Linked DNA regions of Homo sapiens: regions 2, 3, 4, 5, 6 and 7 are each linked to region 1. The links are contacts of gene promoters, found by promoter capture Hi-C in blood cells and fetal thymus (Javierre and others, 2016). All regions are on one chromosome and are shown on one strand. The core of a region is centred on a gene start or on the middle of the fragment in contact, and the rest is flanking DNA. Distances in the headings are between cores, read along the strand shown.

The links. Contacts are between HindIII fragments. The CHiCAGO score rates a contact against its expected background, and 5 or more counts as called.
Region 2: the fragment with the promoter of PEX5 here is called in contact with the fragment with the promoter of SLC2A3 in region 1 in 2 of 17 cell types (M2 macrophages and erythroblasts); the score reaches 7.7 in M2 macrophages.
Region 3: the fragment with the promoter of MIR200CHG here is called in contact with the fragment with the promoter of SLC2A3 in region 1 in 5 of 17 cell types (naive CD4 T cells, naive CD8 T cells, neutrophils and 2 more); the score reaches 10.7 in naive CD4 T cells.
Region 4: a contact is called between the fragment with the promoter of LPCAT3 here and the fragment with the promoter of SLC2A3 in region 1, in 5 of 17 cell types (total CD4 T cells, total B cells, naive CD8 T cells and 2 more). The highest score is 8.6, in total CD4 T cells.
Region 5: the fragment with the promoter of RBP5 here is called in contact with the fragment with the promoter of SLC2A3 in region 1 in 9 of 17 cell types (naive CD8 T cells, total CD4 T cells, activated CD4 T cells and 6 more); the score reaches 10.7 in naive CD8 T cells.
Region 6: a contact is called between the fragment with the promoter of CLEC4E here and the fragment with the promoter of SLC2A3 in region 1, in 2 of 17 cell types (neutrophils and monocytes). The highest score is 17.1, in neutrophils.
Region 7: the fragment with the promoter of CLEC6A here is called in contact with the fragment with the promoter of SLC2A3 in region 1 in 7 of 17 cell types (monocytes, erythroblasts, M0 macrophages and 4 more); the score reaches 13.4 in monocytes.

Annotation. Positions count from the first base shown.
Region 1 is chr12:7,934,720-7,938,275 of GRCh38, reverse strand. It overlaps SLC2A3 (solute carrier family 2 member 3), which reads left to right and starts at 2,089. Exons shown (of 10, transcript NM_006931.3): 1 at 2,089-2,256. The coding sequence starts at 2,242. RefSeq lists a cis regulatory region at 1-62, a silencer at 1,911-1,960 and an enhancer at 3,028-3,556. The HindIII fragment of the contact is 4,746 bases long and covers 979-3,556 here.
Region 2 is chr12:7,187,966-7,191,423 of GRCh38, reverse strand. It overlaps PEX5 (peroxisomal biogenesis factor 5), which reads right to left and starts at 1,738. Exons shown (of 16, transcript NM_001351132.2): 1 at 1,674-1,738; 2 at 900-1,062; 3 at 501-536; 4 at 66-198. The coding sequence starts at 1,046. RefSeq lists enhancers at 912-991, 449-1,164, 1,022-1,171, 1,165-1,881, 1,882-1,941 and 2 more and silencers at 1,362-1,771, 2,792-2,841. The HindIII fragment of the contact is 37,708 bases long and covers 1-3,458 here.
Region 3 is chr12:6,961,765-6,965,229 of GRCh38, reverse strand. It overlaps MIR200CHG (MIR200C and MIR141 host gene), which reads right to left and starts at 1,985. Exons shown (of 2, transcript NR_135032.1): 1 at 1,882-1,985; 2 at 783-1,029. MIR200C (microRNA 200c) reads right to left here and starts at 1,531; the gene lies at 1,464-1,531. It overlaps MIR141 (microRNA 141), which reads right to left and starts at 1,133; the gene lies at 1,039-1,133. It overlaps LOC105369634 (a long non-coding RNA gene), which reads left to right and starts at 2,131. Exons shown (of 2, transcript XR_931601.2): 1 at 2,131-2,691; 2 at 3,109-3,465. RefSeq lists enhancers at 239-288, 2,071-2,872, 3,114-3,323, 3,132-3,465, 2,873-3,465. The HindIII fragment of the contact is 14,599 bases long and covers 1-3,465 here.
Region 4 is chr12:7,016,749-7,020,298 of GRCh38, reverse strand. It overlaps LPCAT3 (lysophosphatidylcholine acyltransferase 3), which reads left to right and starts at 1,823. Exons shown (of 13, transcript NM_005768.6): 1 at 1,823-2,025. The coding sequence starts at 1,875. RefSeq lists a silencer at 1,213-1,472. The HindIII fragment of the contact is 11,114 bases long and covers 1-3,550 here.
Region 5 is chr12:7,127,237-7,130,588 of GRCh38, reverse strand. RBP5 (retinol binding protein 5) reads left to right here and starts at 1,700. Exons shown (of 4, transcript NM_031491.4): 1 at 1,700-1,886; 2 at 2,171-2,349. The coding sequence starts at 1,814. It overlaps CLSTN3 (calsyntenin 3), which reads right to left and starts at 218. Exons shown (of 18, transcript NM_014718.4): 1 at 1-218. RefSeq lists a silencer at 362-461. The HindIII fragment of the contact is 14,463 bases long and covers 1-3,352 here.
Region 6 is chr12:8,538,659-8,542,265 of GRCh38, reverse strand. CLEC4E (C-type lectin domain family 4 member E) reads left to right here and starts at 1,361. Exons shown (of 6, transcript NM_014358.4): 1 at 1,361-1,505; 2 at 2,319-2,411; 3 at 2,960-3,049. The coding sequence starts at 1,469. The HindIII fragment of the contact is 5,761 bases long and covers 1-3,607 here.
Region 7 is chr12:8,454,353-8,458,017 of GRCh38, reverse strand. It overlaps CLEC6A (C-type lectin domain containing 6A), which reads right to left and starts at 2,056. Exons shown (of 6, transcript NM_001007033.2): 1 at 1,876-2,056; 2 at 31-120. The coding sequence starts at 1,906. The HindIII fragment of the contact is 4,980 bases long and covers 1,475-3,665 here.

The DNA of each region.
Region 1 (3,556 bases), core at 840-3,339:
CTAGGCCCTCAACCAAAACCCTAAAGGAAGATACACTTTCTCCAATTCACCACTGGGAAAAAGTTTATCTCTTTACCAAGCGTCCTTCACCCACCCTGCCACCTCCAGTACTGAAAGGGTTGCAAGCTACAAATGAATGGGCATTAGGAATTTGATAGTTGATATTCCTCCTCCAAAAAAGCCTAGATACTATCTCTCACTTACCCAGCTGTTTAAACACAAACCAAGTTGTTTTGCTTTGTTTACTCTCAACCTGGAACCACTCTTCTCTCTCCCCGATTATCCCTCCCTCAGTTCTCATTCCTATTTTCTTCTCCTGCTTAGCTTGTTCAGTTTTCTTGTATAGCTTAGTAATCAGATACTTATGTAACACTTTTCTTTCAAGAAACTCACAGTCCATAACTAATAGGATATTAATAATCTTTTCCAGTTATGTGAGAATTACTTGCCCTAGTCCCTTTTTATACTTTATAAAAAGGGAAGAAGGGAAACACTATAAATGACTTGTGGGTCAGAACTCTTTTGTCCTATTATTCTTTTTTTTTTTTTTTTTTGAGACGGATTCTTGCTCTGTCGCCCAGGCTGGAGTGCAGTGGCGCTGTCTTGGCTCACTGCAAGCTCCGCCTGCCGCGTTCACGCCATTCTCCTGTCTCAGCCTCCCGAGTAGCTGGGACTGCAGGCGCCCGCCACCATGCCCGGCTAATTTTTTTTTTTTTTTTTTTTTTTTTTGTATTTTTAGTAGAGAATGGTTTCACCGTGTTAGCCAGGATGGTCTTGATCTCCTGACCTCGTGATCCGCCCACCTCGGCCTCCCAAAGTGCTGGGATTACAGGCGTGAGCCACCGCGCCCGGCCTTTTTTTCTATTATTCACTGAAGAATCACCAGCTTCTTGGAGAGTACCTGATACATAGCGTGTATTCGGCAAATACCTGCTTAATTGAATTCGGTATTTATTGCATTTCTAGATGCTATAAGCTTGAGACTAGCAGAAAGTGATGCAGAATTCAGAATGGGTGATATGGCAAATGCCTTATTAAATATAGGGCTCGGCGCGGTGGCTCACACTTGTAATCCCAGCACTTTGGGAGGCCAAGGCGGGCAGATCACAAGGTCAGGAGTTTGAGACCAGCCTGGCCAATATGGTGAAACCCCGTCTTTACTAAAAATACAAAAATTAGCGGGGCGTGGTGGCGGGCGCCTATAGTCCCAGCTACTCGGGAGGCTGAGGCAGGAGAATTGCTTGAACCCGGGAGGCGGAGGTTGCAGTGAGCCGAGATCGCACCACTGCACTCCAGCCTGGGCGACAGAGAGAGACTCCATATCAAAAAAAAAAAAAAAAAAAAAAAAAGGATATGGATTGTATTCCATAAACAGTTGAACCTCTTATTCCTACTGCCCTGATAGTTGGTCTGGCTCCTAGAAATTCAGATTTTCTTCCCTCCAGGTGAGATTATGCGAAGAAAGGAACACTGGCAAAATTATTTCCCTGATTTTCTTCTCTCAGGCTGTCTTTCCCTCCCCTTTAAGATTGTGTACTCCGTCTCAAAAAAAAAAGAAAAAAAAAAGATTGTAGACCCAGCCTATAAATTCATAGGATCAAGAATTCTTACTAACACTCTTTCTAACAACCTTAAATCTCTGATAGTAGCACCCACTTGACTTCGTTTTGTATGGATAGATTTATTCTAATCTCTCTGTAGATTGTTTTAATCCCAAGCAGATGCGAGAGCATAAAATAGTGTATTTGCCCTCCCTCCAGGCTTTTCTGGTAGTATTTTGTCTGTGAAACTAAGAGGCTCTAGCTGCTATTAGAAGAGGGAAGGAGTAAGGATGAGCTTTTGAAAAAAAAAAAAAAAAAAAAACCCAGGGTGGAGAGAGTGGAAGGATGTGGTTTTAAGAGAGGGGGGAGGGAGGGCGTTATTGTCTGTGGGGCGGGGGCGGGGGTAGTTCTGATAACACAGAATTCCGAGAGATCACAAGATTGCTTCAGGGGGGTGGGGTGGGGTGGGGTGGGGCTGGGGGCTTGTCGCCCTTTCAGGCTCCACCCTTTGCGGAGATTATAAATAGTCATGATCCCAGCGAGACCCAGAGATGCTGTAATGGTAAGACTTTGGATCCTTCCTGAGGACGTGGAGAAAACTTGCTGCTGAGAAGGACATTTTGAAGGTTTTGTTGGCTGAAAAAGCTGTTTCTGGAATCACCCCTAGATCTTTCTTGAAGACTTGAATTAGATTACAGCGATGGGGACACAGAAGGTAAGAATGATATAATTACTGGTTATTTTTGCTTGTTTGGGATACACTCAGAAAGGCAAATATTAATGGTAATCTCCTTGTTCTATTTTCTCCTAAGTCACCAAGCTATCTTAAGGCCTTTTCATTTCGTCTCTAGCCTGCACTGCTGCCGCTTCATCAGTTCTCTTTGAATGTCATACAGTTCTGTTCACCTTATCATAGGAAAGTCACCCGGAGAAGTTGTGTTTGCTTCTCAGGTTTATTTTAGGTAACCATATGCCACTGAGGACGAGATGGTTGAGTGTTTAGAGGATCGGGCTGCTTGGTTGTATGGATTACAAGTGTGGGTCTCAGAGCCAGTGTGAAGACTTCTCTGGAAGCATTAGACCTTGAAAAGGTCTGTGTTTGGAGGCACAGGCCAGGGTCTGGCCATCTGTTTGTCCTATAACATATGGGGTTCGTGGATGCTAAGGAGAAAGAATTCCAGTTGTCCTTCCTATTAGGGTTAAAATCGTGAGTGCAGGACATACTAAAATATTGAGTGTTGTATATGCATTATTTGCAGGGAGAAAGGCTTTTCTTTTTTTTCTGATTGAGTTTTACTCTTGTTGCCCAGGCTGGAGTGCAATGGAGCGACCGCAGCTCACCACAGCCTCCGCCTCCCGGGTTCAAGCGATTCTCCTGCCTCAGCCTCCTGAGTAGCTGAGATTACAGGCATGAACCACCGGGCCCGGCTAATTTTGTATTTTTAGTAGAGACGGGGTTTCTCTATGTTGGTCAGGCTGGTCTCGACTCCCGACCTCAGGCGATCCGCCGGCCTCGGCCTCCCAAGGTGCTGAGATTACAGGCATGAGCCACTGCGCGCAGCAAGAAAGGCATTTTTTACCAAGATAAATTTAACTAAAAATAAGGGGCCAGGTGTGGTGGGTCACACCTATAACCCCAGCATTTGGGAAACCAAGGCAGGAGGATCACATGAGGCCTGGAGTTTGAGACTAGCCTTGGGCAATATAGTGAGATCCCATCTCTACAAAGCAGAAAGAAAGAAAATGTAGGAAAATAAGAAAGGGATGGAAAATTATGAGACTAAAGAAGAAAAGGCTCTCAAAGATAGTGAATGATGAGAGGAGACAGAAGAGATTTTTACTAAACGGAAAAAGATTTAACAGAGCATTGCACTGGCAGGGCCCTCCGGGGTACCGATGCTTAGCTGGGACTGAGACATCTGGGAGGCTGCAGGCAAGGTCACTTCTCCTGCTGAAGCTCCCAGCCTGCTGCCTAATCTGCCCGACCTGAAAGGAAAGGAGTTTAAGATATGAAA
Region 2 (3,458 bases), core at 489-2,988, 750 kb after region 1:
AACCCCCTTCCTTGGCCCTGGCTACATGGAAAACGATCTCCCCTCCCACTAGACTCTGGACTCACCTCTCTGGGGAGCCTGGCGGAAGTTTGACTGCTCAATCTGCTGCATCTCAGCCAGGAGGTCATCCATCTTGAAGGTCTGAGGGGCACGGGACACAAGGGGTGCATTCTGGTCCTGCAGGAATTCAGCCACCAACTGCCAGAAGGGAAATGATGAAATGAACCCATAGGCTTGGGAGGCCCCAGCAAGAGGCAGGACCCACTGGAGGGGGATCCCAATGTTAGATACAAGGAAAGGAAAACACAGAAACTGGAGACACATAAAGAGAAACTGTCTTTCCATAGATTTAGAAGGACGAAAAAATACATTTAAAAACAAGCAGGCATTCTCATTCGGTCAGGAAAGCCCAAAAATTGAAATACGGGTGAACTAAGTTTAAAGGTAAAAACACAGTGGGCAAGAGAAAAATGGGACAGAAAAGAGACTGGTCTATTTACCTCATCTTCAGAAGCTACTCCCAAAGGCTTGGAGGCCTAAGAGAGAAAGACAGAGATGTACAATGACGCAGTTCCTCTAAAATCAGGGGTTGATGAAGCCCATAGGCATCTGAGCCTCGGCTTCTTCATCTATAAAATGGTTGCATTTATTTAAAGGTGCACAGGGTTTTCTAGTGTTTATAAACGCTCAGTAAGTGGTAACTACTATGATTTGCAACACAATAGAGAAAGCAGTTATACCAAGATGTGCAAACAGCCCCTCCACCTCAGACCACCACCACCTGGGCTTTCCACCTCAAGAACACTCACTGCCTCAGAGGCTGCACCTGGGCTTTCCACCTCAAGAACACTCACTGCCTCAGAGGCTGCACCTGGGCTTTCCACCTCAAGAACACTCACTGCCTCAGAGGCCGGGGCTCCGGGGGGCCAGGGGCCAGGCCTCAATCCCTCCTGCCGAAGGGCCTTGTCCTGGGTGAAGTGCCCGGCGAGCTTCATGAGCGGGTTGGCACCCCCGCATTCGGCCTCCACCAGCTCCCGCATTGCCATGGTGACCGCCAGCTCTCTGATGGACACAGGAGGTTTGGAACTGAGGTACCCAAGCCAGACCCTTCTCACATCCACAACTCTGCCCGTATCTGAGGAAGGCACACAGGCGTCTGCCCCACACTGGCCGCCCTCCACCCCAGTGCTTTTGCTGCGACCCCCACCTCTGCCAGGAGTTCGAGGGAGGTCGGTACTCTCTCCTGCCGCCCCCCTCAAAGGCCACCGCTTCCAGCCTGCGCCTCTGCAGAGGCCTCCGCGACTACGGTCCCATGGGCTGGGGGCCAGCAGCTGCCTCCACAAAGGGGCCTGGACCCCGGGGGACCACGGGGACGCTTCAACAACCAGGCTGGACGGCGACACTGCCCGAAGAAGGGACAGTGGGAAAACAGCCCGACCATACCTAGCCCCGCGCAGCCCCAGCACGCGGTGAGCACGGCAGAGGAGCATTCCCTCCCCTTAAGTCACCGGAGCCCTTCCCCCGGCTCGGCCCGGTCCCTCCCGCGCTCCCCACCGCCCATCTCCCCGGCCCTGCTGCCGCTCCAGCCCCGCCCCTGGGACCCGCGAGGCCACCGCAAGGGTGGGGAGGGCCCAGGGACGCGGCCCCGGGCCCCCTCGGGGTCAGGCGCTCACCGCGGAGCGCCGCGCCGCACGACCCGCCGGGGCACCAGGTGCTGGCTTGGGGGAGGGGAGAAGAGGGGGCGGGGAGCCAGGGGGCGGGGCTCAGGCTTAAAGGGGCCGTGACCGCCCCGCAGCGGCCCAGGCCCAGCGGAAGCTGTCTGAAAAGGCGGGGCCTTAAGACTGCGACGCAGCCTGACGGGAAGAGCCGTGAGTCTTAAAGGGGAAGAGCACCTTAGAGAGCGGGTCTTGGAGAGTCGCCTTTAGGAGCGCTCGAAAAGGCCACGGGCCCTAGGATTTGTTTGACGGAAAGCTCAAAGAAGAGTGGAGCTAAGAAGGGCTTCCCAGGCTCTGGGGGAAAGCCGAAGACGCGAGATCCTAGGCTCAGTCGATCCTGCCTCTTCCCTTGGGCGCATTGTGACCTAAGGGGATTCAGTGCCCTTTCTGAGCCTCAGTTTTCCCCTCTAAAATGGGGCTGGCTAATGTTCCCAAGCCCAAGAAAGAGAAAAGCCCTAACACCAGGGGCTGGGGAGTCCAGTCCGAAGCCTTCTTCAGCCTCCTAGGCCTGCCCCGCTTCCAAATAACCCCTAGCGGGGTAGCGTCACTGTCTCCATGGAGACAGGGGCCCGCCCCCGCCTTAATCCCTCTCCACCTCTGCATAATGGGGAAAATAGCACTGCATGATGACAAATTCCGGAGACCAAAATAGGGTCCAACGCATCCTGAGACCTCGAGCTGGTAACGTACAGGGAAGGTGAACAGTGAGTCAGCCCTTCCTTCCGCTAAGTCAACATAGTGGCCTTATTCCCATCACTCCAGGCTGGGAAAGGACAAACATACAAGAAATGCTTTTAATCACGGAATAAGACTAAGCCTCAAGCCCCCTCATCTGCCAAAGAGTGTGCTCTGCTGTCAAACCTCAAAGTCATTGAGAAACAAACCCTGATAATCTCACCCAGCTTCAAGACCAAGGGAGTCCTAGTGTCATGGAGAAGAGCAAGGAGGGGCCCAGGGCTGCCGGTAAATGACCAAGGGCAATAATGCCAGACGAACAGAAGTACCATCCCAGCCCAGGGTGCATGAGCGGAGGCAGGCAGGCAGCAGGTGGCGCCATGGGCCGGGCTTGTTTCCTGGCTGTTCTGCAGATTTCAGAGGTGGAGGCCTCAGGGGGCCACAGGGAATGTCTGTGTAAACTCATCCCTGGGAAGACAGAGAAGCTGCTCTGACACCTCAGGGGAACAGAATGGCAGGGGACAGACCATAAGACTGTGCAACATTTCTCCTTTTCCTTGCCTTTTCGCCCTCTTTCAGAGGCCCCACTTCTACACCCCGTTTTCTTCCGGAGCACACAAATCCCAGCCCTTGGGCGTCCCCTGTTCTCAGGCTGCCATCGTGAGGAAAATACCTGATAAACTAAACCACACAAGGATGAAGAGATGCCCTCCAGAAGGTGCATACTTTTAAAAAGAGGACCCCCTAGAGAGAGCAATGTTTAAAGGAACCCATCTGATACAGTAGAATTTCAGAACCTCAAGGCAACCAGAGTTTCCCAGTACCACTTAAACATCACAACACACATAACCTTCTGCTCTGCTAGGAGTTTATCAACTGATTAGCCGTAACTCACTTTGTGTGCAGATCTTGGAAGAATGCTAATAATAATAACTGATGTTTACTAAAATCCAGGTGTTGTGTAAAACACTTTATGTATCTCAATGTTTTTAATCTTCTTAATACCCCTATTAAATAGATATTAGTAGACCCACTTTACAGATAAGACTTGTGCAAAATCAGATGGCT
Region 3 (3,465 bases), core at 736-3,235, 970 kb after region 1:
GGCTAAGGGGAAGCAAGGCCTGGGCTCCGAAACAGGACCCAAGCTGGGAAGGCTGGCCCTGAGTTCTCGAGGCCCAGCTGTGCTCTTCACACACCCTCCATTTCTCCCACATCACCCATTTTTTTAAGGCTGGACAGCCATGGCTTTGCTGAGCCAGATTAAAAATCTGATGACCCCAACAGGAGCTGCTTCCTTGGCAGCAGGGTTCCTTGTGGCTGTGGGGAGCCTGCCTGTGCCTGTTGAGGCACTTCTGTGCCCAGAAGCCCAGTGGATCGCGTGGCCTGCTGTAGGCCCCCCAGACTCCATTTCTCAGTCACCAGGCGTGAGGAGCTGCTAGCTAACAGGCCTCCCCTGGGGAGGTGGGCTTTTCATGCCCGCAGTTCCGGGGCCAACAGAACAGGTGCCTGTCTGTTCAGTCCACAGATAAGCTGACACTTATCTTCCCAAGACAGGCCTTCCCGAATCTCAGGCACCAGAGAAACAGAGCCACCGTTTATACCTGAATCTCCCACTACTGCCCATTTCCCATCCCTGCGGGGAGACAAGGAAGATGTGGAACTCAGACAAAACATAGGTGCAAAGTATGTCCAGGAACTGCCAAATGCAGATAGGGCAGCAGGTGGATCTGAACAGAGGGACTGGGTTAATCTGCTTCGATTTTTAAGATATTTTTCTCTGCTTGGGGTTGAGTATCATGAAAGACAAAGCAGACGTCGCAGCCCCAATCCTGAGTTGCTGGGAGGCTAAGATGAGATAAACAACTAGACAAAAGACAGGTCAAGTGACTTGGATCAGTCTTCCTCATGTTCCCCTTCACACTTTATTTATTTCATGCTCCCAAGGCGGGAAGACAATGGAGGTGCCTAGGGAACCAGTGTTTCCACATCTTGCTGCAGCTGTAAAGGCAGCCATTTTGTCTCCTTCCCATTGTTCCCCTTTGCCTAGTGATTCGTCCCCCATCCAGAGGGGTGAAGGTCAGAGGTTGTTGGTCAGTAGTCCTCCATGGTCTTCAGGGCTCCCTGAAGGTTACTGCCGAGAGAACCCACCCGGGAGCCATCTTTACCAGACAGTGTTAGGAGCTTCACAATTAGACCATCCAACACTGTACTGGAAGATGGACCCAGGGCCGGCCGACAGAGAACTACGGTGCGCGCTCACCAGTTGCTACAGGGGACCCTGGCCACAGGCCAGGTGAGGTCTCTTGAGAGGGGGCGAGCCAACCCCAAGCTCAAGGTCGACTGTGGGTTCTGGATCCACCAGGTGACAAATCGCACTGGGTGGGAGGAGGGGCTGGGGCCCATTGTGTCCCTTAGTGGCAGCCAGCCAACAAGAACCACCCCTTGTGCAACGCTCTCAGCTCAAGACGAGGGGCTTCCGGGGTGCGTGGGAAGTGGGGAGGGGGCTGCAGCCAGCTAAGGGCTGGGGACCTGAGGCGATGGATGTTGCTGACACAGGGACAGGGGCCTCCATCATTACCCGGCAGTATTAGAGACTCCCAACCGCACCCAAACACTGCTGGGTAAGACGAGGGCCCCCGCCCAGCCCGCCCACCTTGGGTCAGGCAGCTTCAGGCCCAGGATCCCTGCGGAAAAGCTGCAGATCCCTGGCTCCCATCCCCCCACCACCCGAGTCCCTGGGGACACTTCCTGGTGAGCCCTGCTGCCCGCCACCAGCCACACCCTGGGTCGCTGATCACGAGGCCCAGGTTGCAGTCCAAGCAGGCCCTCCGAAGCCCCTCGACCGTCGGCCCGCCGCCTCTGAGCCACCTTCCCCTACCCCCGGCAGCCTTTCCCGACCCGCGACACACACCGATTTACCCACCCTCATCCCCCCTCTGCAGTCCCAAGCTCAGCCCAGGACCTCTCCCCTGGTGGCCTTTACCTGTCACCGGGCCCACCTGCCCCCAGAGAGTGGGTGCTGGGGAGACGAAGGGGCTTTAAGGCCCCAGATTCCACGGCCTAGAGCCCGCCCTGGCCTCCGCTCTTCCTCCTTCCTTCTCCGCCTGCCGGGCAGCCAGCGCAGGCTCCTTACCTGGGCCCCGCCTGCCACCCTGCGCACAGGTGTGTCCTCCTGCCATAGGCTGCCCCCCCACTGCCTTAACCCCTTCCCTCCCAGCGCCAGCCACGGGCACCTCCTCTAAGGCTTGGCCACTCCTCTAGGCCTCCCACCCTCTCCCAGGGGCCTCTTTTCTCCAACCTGCCTAGTCTCACCCCTGTCTCCAGAGGTACAAAAAGCGGGGGCTGTCCTTGGGTCCCCTCCCCACAGCAGATGCTGCCCCCAGGACTAGCCCATTCCTCTGTGGCCTCAGACCCTGCCCACAGCGGAGCTGCAGGCCAGAGAGATCCCTGAGGTCAGCGAGGGGTCAGCTGGGCAGGAGTTGGGCTGTGCCGCCCCGCAGTGCCCAGCCTGTGCTGGGATCCCCTGAGGGAAAGGGGAGGGAGAAGGCCCCGCCAGGCCTGTGAAGGGCAGGCGGGTCCCAGCAAGGTGTCGCTAGTGTGAAGTTACCCACCGCTACCCAGAGACCCCAGCTGGCCCGGAGCATCAGCCTTGCCCCTCGATTGAGGCCTGCAGAGGGAACGATCGCGCTCCACTCTCCGGACCGAGCTGCTCCCGGACCCACCTCACAGCACAGCCCTCAGTGGAGTCCAAGTCCCACCCCAAGGGCAGGTAGCCCAAGGGCGGTTAGAGGAGGTGGGACTTGCCTTTGTGCAGCTGCGGCTTGTATAGAAAGGGCGTTGCTGGGAGAGGGGACCTGGGCCCGACAGGTGATTGCCCCACCCGTGCCCTGGAGGGCCACAGCCCCAGGGAGCTATTGGGTTGCTCAATCCCTCGCTGTTCTCTCTCCCAGGCTTTGTTTGCTTCCTTCTTAATACCCGCCTGCAATTATTTGATGCTTGTGATCGGTTTGTGAATCTGTCTCCCTGACCAGCCTCCTAAGTTCCAGGAGGTCGGGGGACTGTGAATGCCTGTGACGCCGGGGGCTCTGTAAGGATTTGCTGAGTAATGCACGCCCAGCCTCTGGGCTTTGGGACCTGTGCTGTCTCAGCCTTTCCAGGAGTGGGCGCCAGCACTTCCTGAGGGATGACTCCCACCGGCTTTACTCCCCAGGACACCAGTGTTTCAAATAAAGAAGAAACCCCACTCCTGACATGGGGGAAGGAAGAGGGGACAAAAAACAAAGCACTCTTCACGTCAGCCAGCTCTTCAAACTCTGCCCAAGAGGATAAGGGCAGCAGCGGCCTGGATGAGGGGAGGAGCTGGGCGTGCCCGGGTGCTCTGAGGAGCCTGTCCCTGTTCCCGCCAGAGGGGACGCAGCCGGGCTGGCCTCAGGTCTGCGCTTCCGGCTGTTAACTACTCTTCTTAGTTCAGATCTGGAACTCAGCATCAGGGGAGTGTGATCAGGGCCCCCCTGAGGGTGGCCCCAGCTGCAACTCCAGGGTAAGGAGTGTGGGCTCTGGGGTCAGA
Region 4 (3,550 bases), core at 574-3,073, 920 kb after region 1:
TCAACCTCCCAGGCTCAAGTGATCCTCCCACCTTAGCTTCCTGAGTAGCTGGGACTACAGGCATGTTCCACCATGCTCATCTAAATTTTATTTTATTTTTTTTGTAGAGACAGGGTCTATGTTGCCCAGGCTGGTCTCCAACTCCTGGGCTCAAGCAATCTTCCCACCTCAACCTCCCTAAGTACTAGGATTACAGGCATGAACCACTGTGCCCGGCCAATATAAGGCATGCAAAACTATACTAATTTTCCTTTCTGGATATATGCTGTATGTAAAGTATTAAAATAGGCATGGGATTGATAAATACCAAAGTCAGCAAAGTGGTGACCTCTGAGAAAGGAAGGAGGGAAATGCCCTCAGGAAGGGATATACCGGCTTTTCAAATGTATAGGTGATGTTTGTTTCTTAACCTGGAGAAGTTATATTATCCTCTACTTTTCCGTGTGAATGAAATATTTTGTTTTTTAAAATCTTGCCCAAAATGGGAGTAGGGGTAGGGAATTTGACAGACCTAGGTTTAAATTCTGTCTGCCGCTTACTTGTAAAGGAACTTACCCAGTTTCTTAATTTCTCCAAGCCTCTGTGTCTGTAAGAGGACATCATCATAATAAATATTCTATTGCGCAGCCAAAGCAAGTGAAATAATACGGATGAAAGTGCTTTATAAAGTGCAAGTGCTACAGAAGTATAAGCTGTAATTTTACAAGAATGCGCCACAAATTATTGTAACTAAGAGTTATTGCAAGAAACTCTTAGCATTCCTTTGTTACATACTCTCACAGAACCTTGACCCTTTCCTTCAGAGCACTTACCTTCTCTTGCAATAACACGTTAATTGATGCTATTATTTGTGCATCCTCCCACTCCGTGGCTCTGGGCTCCTGATTCTATTCCCAAGCCCAGCACAGTCCCTGGCATATGGTAAGTGCTCGACAGATTTTTTTTTTTTTTTTTTTGGCGTAATCTTAACAGGATTACCTGTAGGAAGTGAGAATGAAAAGCAGGGAGGGGAAACAGGACTCTTCTGTTTTACATTTCTATACTGTTATAACTTTTATCATAAACATGTATTACTCAGTGCAAAATTATTTGAATTTTTAATTAAAATAATAAGTGTTAAATAGGCATATCTTAATTTCATCGCCTCTAGGGGGAAGGTCATGTTTTACTACAGGAAACTGCATGGAAAAGGGATCCATGAAATAAAAGGAGCAGACAATGTCTGTTCCTGGGGCACTGGGCTTTCCGCTGAACCTCCGGGAGTGAAGGCGACGAGTCTAACAACCTAAGAATTTAAGAACGGGCCGGGAGGCGCCGTTAGGGGGCGCGCGAAAGGCGGCGCGGGCGTTCCCGCCTCCCCGTTACATGCCCCAGTAACCCCAGCGCCGGCGACCGGGAGTAACCTCGCGCGCGGGCGGCCCCCCCGCGTCCAGACTCTCGCCTGCTCCCGCCTCAGCCAATGGGAAGGCAGCGAACCGGCCGGCCGGACGGTCGCCCCGGAGGGCTCCTCCTGGGAGCATTTCGAACGGAGTTGAACTGTCGCCGGGCCACGGGCTCAGACCTTTCCAATGGCAGCTCTGGGTCCCGACGCCAAGCCCCGCCCAGCCCTGAGCCTCCCCGTGTGCATTCTCGGCAGGAGTCACCTTTGCCTTACAAACCTTCAGACCCGCCCTCTTCCTACCTTGCCGCGCTAGGCCCCGCCCTCTGCGCAGGTCGGCCAATAACGGGGTGAGCTGGCGCCGCGGGGCGGGCCTCCAGCCAATGCGCACGCCGTGGGCGGGCCCCGAGCCGGAATTGGGGGTGAAGCGATAGCGTTTTGCCCGCATTCGGGGCGCGCGGAGCTGGGGGGTCCCTGTGGGGCTCCCGGAGTTAAGATGGCGTCCTCAGCGGAGGGGGACGAGGGGACTGTGGTGGCGCTGGCGGGGGTTCTGCAGTCGGGTTTCCAGGAGCTGAGCCTTAACAAGTTGGCGACGTCCCTGGGCGCGTCAGAACAGGCGCTGCGGCTGATCATCTCCATCTTCCTGGGTAAGGACCCTCCTGCCTCCCTCCGCCCCTCGCGGAGTCCCCGGGGAGTAGGGGAGGAATGGGGACAGGACCTCCCTCTCTTCCCGGAGCCACCCGGGAGGGCTGTGCCGGGTGCGGGTGTGAATCCTGAAGCACACCAACAGCTACTGAGGGAAGACAGAAGTCCTGTCTCGAGTCTGGGGCGCTGTGCCCTCTGAACCTCTTCATCTTTCTCTTCAACCCCTGCCATGCCCTCTGGCCTCTCAGTCGGGCCCCCGCCCTCTTGTGCCAGGCTCTACCCTTGCTCCCACGACCTGTCTTTATTTGTCGCTCTGTTGAGTTCCACTGTCTGGCCATGTGTCCTGCTCTGTCATTAATAACCACCCCGCACACGCGCGCATCTCATCGGTAGGCATAGGGCCCCTAACTTTAGCCCTTTCGGCCTTTTCAGCCCCATATTCCATATTTCATATTCTGAGCGCCTGTTTTGCTTATTGCCAGCTTATATTATACTTTCGTCTCTTTTCTGTCCCAGTCCTACTATTTTCTTTTTATACCATGTTGCTTTTTTTATTTTCCAAGCCACCTACCTGTCATTTACCCTGGAATATCATTTTAATGCTGGACTTGGGAAACAGGACTAACAACCTCCTTAAAATCGATCCATACTATTCCAAGCGTTTATTACACGTGTGGTTCAAAGGATGTGGTGTATCTGAATTTATGCCACAACAAGCTGTATTACAACTGGTTTATAGGCTTTTTTACCGCATCCTCACTCCATGGTTTAATACATGGAGGTAGCATAGTACAATGGAAAAAAGTATGGGTTTTGAAGGCAAACAAATCAGATCCAGCCTTGTTGCTGCTCACAAACTGAAGGACCCTACGCAGGCCGCAAAACCCTCTGGGCCTAATTTCCTTATCTATGAAATGAGGACAACAGTGCCTACCACATAGGATTGCCATAAAGTCCTGTAGAAGGGCCAAGATTGGGAAGTACCTGTACATATATATACATAAAATTTAAGCAGTTGGAACGTTTTATGAAGGTTATAGAACTTTAGGAGCGGGTGAGTGGGAAGGATTAAGCAAAAGCTGTAAGTGGTGATAAGGAAACAGGACTGGGGCTAGAGCAGAGGGTTAGAGGTCTGAACCATGAGAAGTTTGAGATAAAGTTGGGCAGGTGTGGAAAGCCTTAAATGCCAGAGAGAAGTTTGGCGTTTATCCAGTATTCAGTAGAAACACTGATATATAATATCACCAGAGGGTGTTAACCCAATCTAGATAATGGGATAGGCATTAATTCATATTTAAACAACCTTGCCTAATAGCATTGTTACTTTCCTATTACATATCAAACCAAGATCTTCCTTTCTTCCAAATAAAGATCACCTTTTTCTTCCTCTGTGGAATCGTAAGATTTTAAAGATGGAATGGAACTGGGGTTGTGCAGTTTGCTCAGTGTCACCCAGACATCATCCAAATTTATCAGCACCCTAGTCTAGGCTTATTTGCACTACACCAGCTTTGAACTTCCTACTCT
Region 5 (3,352 bases), core at 451-2,950, 810 kb after region 1:
GGATTCCACCTTGCGGGAGGGATACAGGGGGTCTCCAAGGAGCGGGGTACAGCAGGGCAGGGACGGAAAGGAGCCTGCCGCCCACACTAGTCCATAAAGCGGGCCTGGGCAGATCCCAATCTGGGTAGCTGAGGCGGTGGACTTGCAGCGGCTTCCCGTTTCCCCCAGCCCAGCGTCCTCACTCTCTCACTCCCACCCCAACCCCGCTACTGCAGGATGACGTCAGCACAGCCGGGCAACGATTGATGGGGCCGCCGGCCAATCAGGTGACTGGGAGGGGGGGGGACCAGGTGCTGCAGCGGGGGAGGGAGCCAATGAGACTGGGGCGTCGGGGCTGGAGAGTTTCAAGGCTCCTTCCCCTGGCTGCAATTTTGGGGGAGCCGAGGAACTGCGGGGGCTGGGGAGGAAGCTGGAGAGCCACGGAGGGGGTGGGAAAGAAGAGGGACGTGGGGAGAAAGAAGCCAGAAGCCAGGGGGTGGGGAAGAGAGACGTCAGCGGGACCTGAGGGCGGCCAGGAGGGGTGGCACCGCGTCACCCCGCCCCCCAACTCTGCCATAACCTGTTTCCACAGCCCCTTCCATCCACAGATCCGTGCTGCGTGCCCTCTGGGAAGGGTGAAGTAAAACCCTCAGTCTGAGCCTGAGAAATCCTGGCATTTGTAGCCCAGGGCTGCGAGGAAGCCACAGGGCGGTCCGCAGGGCGGTATCGAGGCTCTGGGACCCAAGGAGGGGCAGGACGTCGTGCACCCCTCGCGCACGCACCTGTCGGGACCGGCCGCCTCCTCCTGCCTACCTGTCCTGCCTCCTTCGCCCCGAATTTCACCTTAAACCATGATGAACCAAGCCCAGTGGATTCTGAAGCCCGGGACGATGGCAGGTTCGAGAGAGAATTGGGCAGCTGGGGGCGGGGCACAATATTATTTAGGCGCCTCCACCCCACCTTCACAGAAATACATCTGGAAAGCATGGGCTGTCCTAGGGCTGGGGACTGGGGGTTACGGTCTCATCGATGACTCAGAGGGAGAGAAAACCCCCTGGGTCCCAAGCCAAAAAGAATAAAATTCTCCAGAATAGCCAACAAACTCCTCTCAGGCTGTCTGTTCCGGACTTTGAACTCAGCACCCCTCGGGCTCCACCTCCCTCCTAATGGCTCTTTAGGACCAAGAGTCTGGAATGCCACTTTGGGGTCCCAGTTGAGCACACTACCTGAGGGAGCTCTGAGAGCCAGGCCTACAGGGTGCTCTTCATGGTGGCAGCTGGCCATCCTCACCCCCTCCCCTCACATCTTCCAACATCACTCAGTCCCAGGATCTCAGGATATTGTTGGAACTCATCTCCACCTCACACAGCCAGACCAGCCTCAGGTGTCTCCCAGGAAAGACTGCCCCTCAGGCCCTGGGACGGTTCCCAAGCCTGCCAGAAATGAGGTGGAGGCCAACACTGACCTTTGGATGGCTGAGTTTTGGATGACTGACAGCCCCAGATCCTGCTCCAGGTTCCTTCCTCAGGAAGGATCCTGCTCCAGGTTCCTTCCTCAGGAAAAGCCAAGGTCAGGCGCAACTTTGCCAAATCCCTGCCCCTCCTTCAGGCTGGAGACACCACCCCCAAACTCACCATGCGGGGAGGGAAGAAGTCTGGTAGGGACTCTTATTGCAACAGGGCCCCAGCCTTATAAAAAGCCCTGGTAACCCGGCCATTACACATCCTGTCTCTGTGTGTGGAGCTGGCTGGAATCTCTCAGCCTCACCTGCCAGACAACACCCCCTCCTTCCTCACCCTGTCTCCTGCATTCTCCTGAAACCTTCATCCACACAATGCCTCCCAACCTCACTGGCTACTACCGCTTTGTCTCGCAGAAGAACATGGAGGACTACCTGCAAGCCCTAAGTAATGGCCTCGCCCTCCCAGACCCCTGTCACTCCCTTTCTCCCCTCTTCCTTCCTGCTTCTTGGTCCCATGGAGAAGAGGGAATGCCCGGGGTTGGACACTGTGGAAAGGCTCAGGCGGCTGGCACCAGACCTGGGATCCATTTCTAACCAGGCATTGGTAGGAGGGGGTGAATCCACAGTCCCAGACCCAAAGAAGGGAAACTCACAGCCCTGAGGGGCTGCTGCAGGCAGAGGAGCTCCTGGCTGGCTAGCAGCACCCCTACTAACAGGCAGCCCCCACAGACATCAGCTTGGCTGTGCGGAAGATCGCGCTGCTGCTGAAGCCGGACAAGGAGATCGAACACCAGGGCAACCACATGACGGTGAGGACGCTCAGCACCTTCCGAAACTACACTGTGCAGTTTGATGTGGGAGTGGAGTTTGAGGAGGACCTCAGGAGCGTGGACGGACGAAAATGCCAGGTACATTTCCCCTGGCTGGGCGGTGGCCGGAAGGAGGCATCACAGGAGACTCCTAACAACATGGGGCAAAACAAAGTGACCTTCCCCAGCCAGAGCAGCGGGGAGGAGGGGAATGGTCACCACAGCAGGGAATGCAGTCCCCAGGATACCAGTCTCCAGAACTAACAGGTCCTGGTGCTCCCTGTCTCTCTCCCACTTCTTCCCTGCCCCCTCTTATCACCAGCCCAAAGGGCAAAGAACAGGCCAACCCAGACCGAAGAGCAAACATTTGCCCACCCTCCAGCCTGTGACACTGTTGGTCACCCAGAGTCCCTTTTACTTTAGCATCAATAACTTCACTCTCCTGCATTTCTTTCTACTTCTTACATATTCCTTCTTAGCCTCCTTTGCAGATCCTAGTCCTCCTATTAATCCTTTAAACTGGAGTTTTCTCCGCAGAGTTTTGTTCTTAATGTCTTCTCCCTTTTGTCTGCCCACTATCCATAGGCTAAATCATCTACACCCATGCCTTCTGCTTCCATCTATAGGCTGCCCTTGGCATGAATTCTCCAGCCAGAGCCATCTCCTGAGCTCCAGGGCAATGTTTTCAACTGCCTACAAAATACAGTTGGCCCTCCATATTCATGGGTTCTGCATCCACAGCTTCAGCAAACTGCAAATGGAAAAATATTTGGGAAAAATAAAAATAAAAAATAACAATACAAAATGATACAAATAAAAAACAATACAGTATAGCAACTATTTACAGAGCATGTACATTGCATTAGGTATTATAAGTAATCTAGAGATGATTTAAAGCATATGGGAAAAGGCTGGGCGTGGTGGCTCACACCCATAATCCCAAGACTTTGGGAGGCTGAGGCAGGCAGATCACTTGAGGCCAGGAGTTCAAGACCAGCCTGGCCAACATGGTGAAACCTCATCTCTACTAAAAATACATAAATTAGGCCAGGTGCAGTGGCTCACACCTGTAATCCCAGTACTTTGGGAGGCCAAGGCGGGC
Region 6 (3,607 bases), core at 112-2,611, 600 kb before region 1:
TTTGGCTCACTGCAACCTCTGCCTCCCAGGATCAAGCTATTCTCCTGTCTCAGCCTCTCAAGTATCTGGAATTACAGATGCGTGCCACCACACTTGGCTAATTTTTGTATTTTTAGTAGAGGTGGGGTTTCACCATGTTGGCCAGGCTGGTCTCAAACTCCTGACCTCAAATGATCCACCCACCTTGGCCTCCCAAAGTGTTGGAATTACAGGCATGAGCCACTGCTCCCGGCCCAGAGAACCATTAAATTCTAATATCTAATTGAAATTGCTTTTTCTGACCTTCAAATACATTTCTCCTACTGTAGGCTGTAACATAGAACTAAAATCCCCAAATAATTGAGAACAGGAGAATTAAACTGCCTGCTGGGTCTCTGAGACTTCAGAAGCTGCGTTATGTTGTGAAAAACTAAGCTGAGTTTCAAAGTGGTCTAATCACATGAGGCTGTCCTGCTGAGGGGGACTCTAGTAGTCAGCCTAGTAGTAGCAGCCTAGTAGTCAGCATAAGATAAGAGGGACATAAATCCACAACATTAGAATATTCAAGAGCTGCAAATGAAGAAGAAAGAAAAACCATAAAAGATGAAAAAGAGGACGGGCGCGGTGGCTCACGCCTGTAATCTCAGGACTTTGGGAGGCTGAGGCGGGCGGATCACGAGGTCAGGAAATTGAAACCATCCTGACGACCACAGTGAAACCCCGTCTCTGCTAAAAATACAAAAAATTAGCCAGGCGTGGTGGCGAGCGCCTGTAGTCCCAGCTACTCGGGAGGCTGAGGCAGGAGAATGGCTTGAACCCGGGAGGCGGAGCTTGCAGTGAGCGGAGATCATGCCACTGCACTCCAGCCTGGACGACAGAGCGAGACTCTGTCTCAAAAAAAAAAAAAAAAAAAAAGATGAAAAAATTCAGGTTGCCATGTCCTAAATACATACACTATATGCCCAGCTTTGTGCTATGTTGTCTAAGTCTTCTTTTCAGTTACCAAATGTGTGGATGGTACAGATCCAAAGTGAAATTCAGAGTGCAGAGGTGAGCTCCATATTGTCAAGGAAAAACTGGGGGATGAGTTATGCCTTGAAGAAACTAGAGACATTTGGTCCAACGAAACGAAACAACATTTAAAAAAAAAACTCTCCTGTTTCCCCATGGCTAGCCTATTTGTGTTGATGCTTACCATTTCATAATTTCCTCATTTTGTTGTTACATGGAGTGAAGAGAACTGACATGCTGTCCAATAAACTTCCTTGTCCTCCTTATGCAAGAAAGGAAATCCTGACTTAATGCGTAGCCACAGAACAAGTTAATATTCTACATCTATCGGAGCTGAACTTCCTAAAAGACAAAGTGTTTATCTTTCAAGATTCATTCTCCCTGAATCTTACCAACAAAACACTCCTGAGGAGAAAGAAAGAGAGGGAGGGAGAGAAAAAGAGAGAGAGAGAAACAAAAAACCAAAGAGAGAGAAAAAATGAATTCATCTAAATCATCTGAAACACAATGCACAGGTAAAATCTGCAACTCTTCCTTTCCTTCCATAGATCTCTTTTTGGAACAAGTGATAAATATGGTGAAAGACAGGACAATAGAAAAGTATTCACTGAAGTTAAAAAAAAAAGTGGGGGGACAGAGGAAGAGAGAGAGAGAGATTTAAAGACTATTTCTTATACCAGAAAGCCTGCTGGCCTCTAGCTAAGGGAGAGCTATCAGTTTCCACCCTTTCTGCAATACATTGTGTCCCTTTTGGCAAGTCACTTCACTTCTCTGGAACTCTCTTTGTCTGTAAAATGTTTAATGGGAGGAAGAGAGGAACTATTAGATGACTGTTAACATTTTACCTAATTTACAAAGCGCTTGAAAAGTGAGACACAGAAAAAAAAAAAAGATCAGGAGAAGGACAAGAAAAGCAAAGACGAGAAAAGGGAAAAGAAAGAAAAAGAAAGAAGGGGGGCCTTAGAAAATACTGAAAAAAATTTAACTGAGAGACTTAGAAAGGAAAAATTGTATATCTGAGTTCATGAGTCAGAGTCTTACTCCAGGGGTGCTAAACGTGTGGTCCTCAGACCAGCAGCAGCAGTAGCCCCTGGGAACTTGTTGGTTCCATACAAACTCTACTGAGTTGCTAACTCTGGGGGTAAGGGTCAGCAATCTGTGTTTCCATAAACCCTCCAAGTGATTCTGAAGCATGCTGAAATTTGGGAATTACTCAGTACAAACAATGGAAGTAGAAGGAAATAAGTAAGGATGAATAAGAATCTCTTCTATCTCTTTTGTACCTTGCTTAGGGAAGATTGATCATGTTTGTGTCTTTCTTTCTACAGAGAGAGGATGCTTCTCTTCCCAAATGTTCTTATGGACTGTTGCTGGGATCCCCATCCTATTTCTCAGTGCCTGTTTCATCACCAGATGTGTTGGTGGGTTCTGAAGGTCAAATTCAATTTAATTCTTCCTGGTGCATATTAGGAGAAAACTCTTCCATGCTGCCTGTAGACTCTCTTTGCCCTCAAAGGGTCTTTCTATTTCACCCTTTTTTTTTTCCCTATTAATCTCTAGGTTATTTCTCAAACCAGAAACCTCAACAAGCAGGGAACTGTTTCTGAATTTTAATCACCTGTGACTTACTTTTCATGATAGACATTTTTCACTTCCTTGGCAGTCCTGAATCCTCCTCTTTCAGCCTCTATCATTAGTGTAACCTTCTCTAGGAGAGTCTGCCTTAGAGCTTGAACTACTGGTCGGCACCAGAGATATGACTAATTACTTTTGGAAGGAAGGGTAGAGAGAGTTGGACTTGGCATAAGAGGTAGTGCAAACATATCTATTTTCTCTGGGTCGTAAGAAAAAGCAGATTGTAAGAAAAAACATGATAATTATTGGCACTTTTGTTATAAATACAAAACTGAGGGAACTGACATTTTTAACCGAAATAAGACTAACAAACATTATGCCCTTTCTTTTACAGTGACATTTCGCATCTTTCAAACCTGTGATGAGAAAAAGTTTCAGCTACCTGAGAATTTCACAGAGCTCTCCTGCTACAATTATGGATCAGGTATAATAGTCCCAAAGGTGAACATCAAAATTTACAAAGCAACATTTTCTGGCTTCTAGATTGACTTTGGGACAGGTGAGATATAGCTGGATTAGGTCTTATTTTTCAAAAGCAAAATGTAAAATCCTAGAAATTTGGTGATGCAATTAGCATTGGGGCAGAAAGTCTTGGGGACATTATAGTAAACTTTTAGAATAAATTTGAGGGGTATGTCTGAACAGTAAATCTGGAAGTGGAAGGTATTATTCCCAGGAGTGTACCTTTTTTTTCATTCACCTACTTCCAAAATGAGATGGAGAAAAAACGTATGGAGTAGAGAATTTATAAATATCTCACAAATATACTCTCTATGCTCTTCTATGTCATCCTGTTGCAAGTCCTAGCAAAATGCTACATGACACTAAAAAAGTGACTTCCTTCTCTGAGCTATAATTTTCTCACCATTAAATTGAGAGAAGTTAGAAGAATTATTTATAATAGACCTCAAAGGCAAAAGTTCTGTAATTCTAAGAAATCTAACTGTAGGGACCAGCCCCACAGGGTTGGTGGGTCTCTCCC
Region 7 (3,665 bases), core at 807-3,306, 520 kb before region 1:
AAGGAAAATGCACCTCAGTGAAGAACTTACCTACACAGCTCACAATGAAGCAAGCACTGAGGAGTGCAATGGAAATCCCAGCCACAGACCAGAGTCTCAGGGACAACCAGCCTCTTTTCTCTGTCCAATCAGGAAGACAACAAATGCAGTTACCAGGGGGCCAGGGAGCCAAAATCCCCAGGAAGCTTACAACAATGAACAAACTAGATGAAGAACCTCAGAGCAGTTAAAAACTTAAAGCAAGAAGACAGCTTACAAACTCCCTCAGAATAAATAACCAGGTAGTAGCTCTGTGGTCCAAAAGAATACAGGTAAAACATACACTCAACCAACTGGAATTTCCATGTCTTTATTCTTTCTTCTAAACTATTACATGTTTCCATTGATTTCGTTTCTCAAAACATCACTTTTGTCTCCCATTTCTCATATCTCTGTATTGATATTTGGTTTCTTCAGTATATCCAAGAGATATCTGCACTCCCATGTTTATTGTAGCACTATTCACAGTAGCCAAGATATGAAAGCAACCTAAGTGTCCATCAACAGATGAATGGATAAAGAAAATGTAGTATAATATATACAATGGCATATTATTCCACCATAAAAAAGAATAAAATCCTGCCATTTGCAACAGCACAGATGGAACCAGAGGACATCGTGTTAAGTGAAATGAGCCAGGCACAGAAAGACAAACATTGCATATTCTGACTCATATGTGGGAGTTAAAAAAATTGATCTCATGGAGGTAGTGAATAGAATGGTGGTTACCAGAGGCCAGGAAGGTTAACTGGGAAGAGAAGATAGAGAAGGGTTGTTTCGTACCTACAAAAATACAATTAGCTAGAAGAAATAAAATCTAGTGTCCCTTAGCACAGCAGGATAACTGTAGTTAACTTTTTTTTTTTTTTGACATGGAGTCTCACTCTGTCACCCAGGCTGAAGCACAATGAGGCAATCTTGGCACCCTGCAACCTCCACCTCCTGGGTTCAAGTGATTCTCCTGCCTCAGCCTCCTGAGTGGCTAGGATTACAGGTGCATGCCACCATGCCCAGCTAAGTTTTGTCTTTTTATTAGAGACGGGATTTCACCATGTTGGCCAGGCTGGTCTCTAACTCCTGACCTCAAGTGATCCACCCACCTCAGCCTCCCAAAGTGCTGAGATTACAGGTGTGAGCCACTGAGCCTAACCCAACAATAATTTATTGCATATGTCAAAATAGCTAGAAGAGTAGATTTGGAATGTTCCAAACACAAAGACATGATAAATATTTGAGGTGATGGATAATGTAATTTTCCAGACTTTACCATTACGCATCATATTCTTGTGTCAAAATATGACATGGAGCCCATAAACATGCACAACTATTTTGTATCCATAAAAAATTTTAATAAAAATTTTTTTAAAACATTATTGATGGACATGCAAAGGGTTGAAGCTAAAGTCAAATTTTCATGCATTAAAAATGGGAAGCTTTTCTCTTACAAAAAAATTAGAAAAGCAAGTACAAAAAAACTTAGGGTAATTGGAAAGAGTACTGCTTCCTGGATTTCAAAATTAGTCAAAAGACTTTGAAGAGCAGACATCCAATAATCAGTTATTTCCCTGTTTACCTTCTATCATGTAAATCTTTTCTGTCTCCCTAAACTATCAATAAAATCTGGTACAAACCTCCCAAAAAATATTTGCTTTCTTATTCTTTCAAGTGCTTATGGCTCTGGCTCTGAAGAATTACTCTTTCTTTCAAATTCCTTTGAGTCTACTATATTGGTCCAATCACTAGCTCTTCAATCTGTTCTTTGGCTACTTCTTCTCTCCAGGTGATCTCATTTCACCATACACTTCCACTTTCCTCTGAAACTGAGGAAATACTCACCTGTACTTTGAGGTTGCTGCTCTTGCATCATTATGCAGGCTCCCTGTGTTGAGAAGGTCCAGGAACCTTTTGTACCTCTCTCCCTAAAGATGTTGCCCAGAGACTCAGCTTCATTTAAAGAAGCTAGAGCTCAGGGACAAACTGCTACACACTCTTATAGGACTAAGAGACTTCCAACATTAAGTGTACCTCAAAAGAAGAAGTCACAATTACAACTAAAGTTTCCAGTGATTTCGATACGTGGGGTTAAAAAAAACAAAAGAGGAATTGAGAAACATTGAAAACCATTCATGAGAACTTTGACAAGAATACTTAGATCATTTCTTCAGTTTCTAACATAAAATTTCTCTGTCTGATTCCTATTCATTCTGGCATGCAAAATAGAAAATTTTTTATCTCCTAAAAGACATCTATTTAGAGAACTTGGTTAAATTAAGTGCTCCCTAACTAACCTTTACATTGGCTGCTTATTTTATGCAAGCCTTAATCCATGTGTTGAACAGTGTCCTAGGTAGTAAGCAAAAGTTTGATTGGATGGATATGGTTTAGATATGAAGGGTAACATAGTAAATAACAAAACCCATGAACATTGTTAAGGAATGTGACTGCAAAATGAAACATTCTGAAATCAGTCTGCAAAGGTGATGAAACATTCTTACTGCATCCAGACTAATATTGGGCAGATGTCAGTGATATTTTGTAATCTCCCTGATTAGGCAAAAGGGAGCCTGAAGTGATATAAAATCAGAAACAGGCTTCATGAATTTTATATTGTAGCACAGAAAATATATGATGTTTTCTTGTCCTCATAGATTCTTAGTAGAGACACTGTCCTGAAAACAAAAGGCAGAGAAACAAGAGAAAAAGCAGCAGTTTATCAATGTGTGTTATACCCATCACTCAGGAGAGAACTCAGTTCAAATGTATTTATCTCTTTCATGGCAGTGGCTTACAGGCCTTGCTTAAATAGTATGTTAACAAACAGCCATAAATCTATGGAGTGCTGAGAACGAAAAAAAAAAAAAACTGTTATTTGAGGAATGTGAGTGCCTTGAAACTATCAAGTCCAGAGTGGACTCATGAGAGAGATATGACAGGAGTCATGCCTCACTGCCACCTTGCACGAAATTTACCTCTTGAAGCCATTTGCTATGTAGGTTCTAGACTAACTGAACCCTAAAATTTAACAGTATACAGCTAATTACTAATCAATGTGGTTTCTGTAAACCAATGATAATTTACTGATGAGTAACTTTTTAATTCACTCCCTCTCCTGATTCATTCTTTTTTTAATTTTTATTTTTCCATAAGTTATTGAGGTACAGGTGGTATTTGGTTACATGAGTAAGGTTTTTAGTGGTGATTTGTGAGATTTTTGTGCACCCATCACCCAAGCAGCATACCCTGCACCATATTTGTAATATTTTATCCCTCATCCCCCTCCCACTCTTCCCCCCAAGTCCCCAAAGTCCATTGTACCATTCTTATACATTTTGTGTCATCGTAGCTTAGCTCCCCATATCATTGAGAACATATGATGTTTGGTTTTCCATTCCTGAGTTACTTCACTTAGGATAATAGTCTCCAATCTCATCCAGGTCAGTGCAAGTGCTATTAATACATTGCTTCTTATGACTGAGTAGTGGTCCATTGTATATCTATACCACAGTTTCTTTATCCACTCATTGATTGATGAGCATTTGGGATGGTTCCATGATTTTTCAGATTCATTCTTTTTTCTTTAAAATCTTCAGTCTTTCCTTTGCTCTCTAGACCACTTCCCAAGGCAA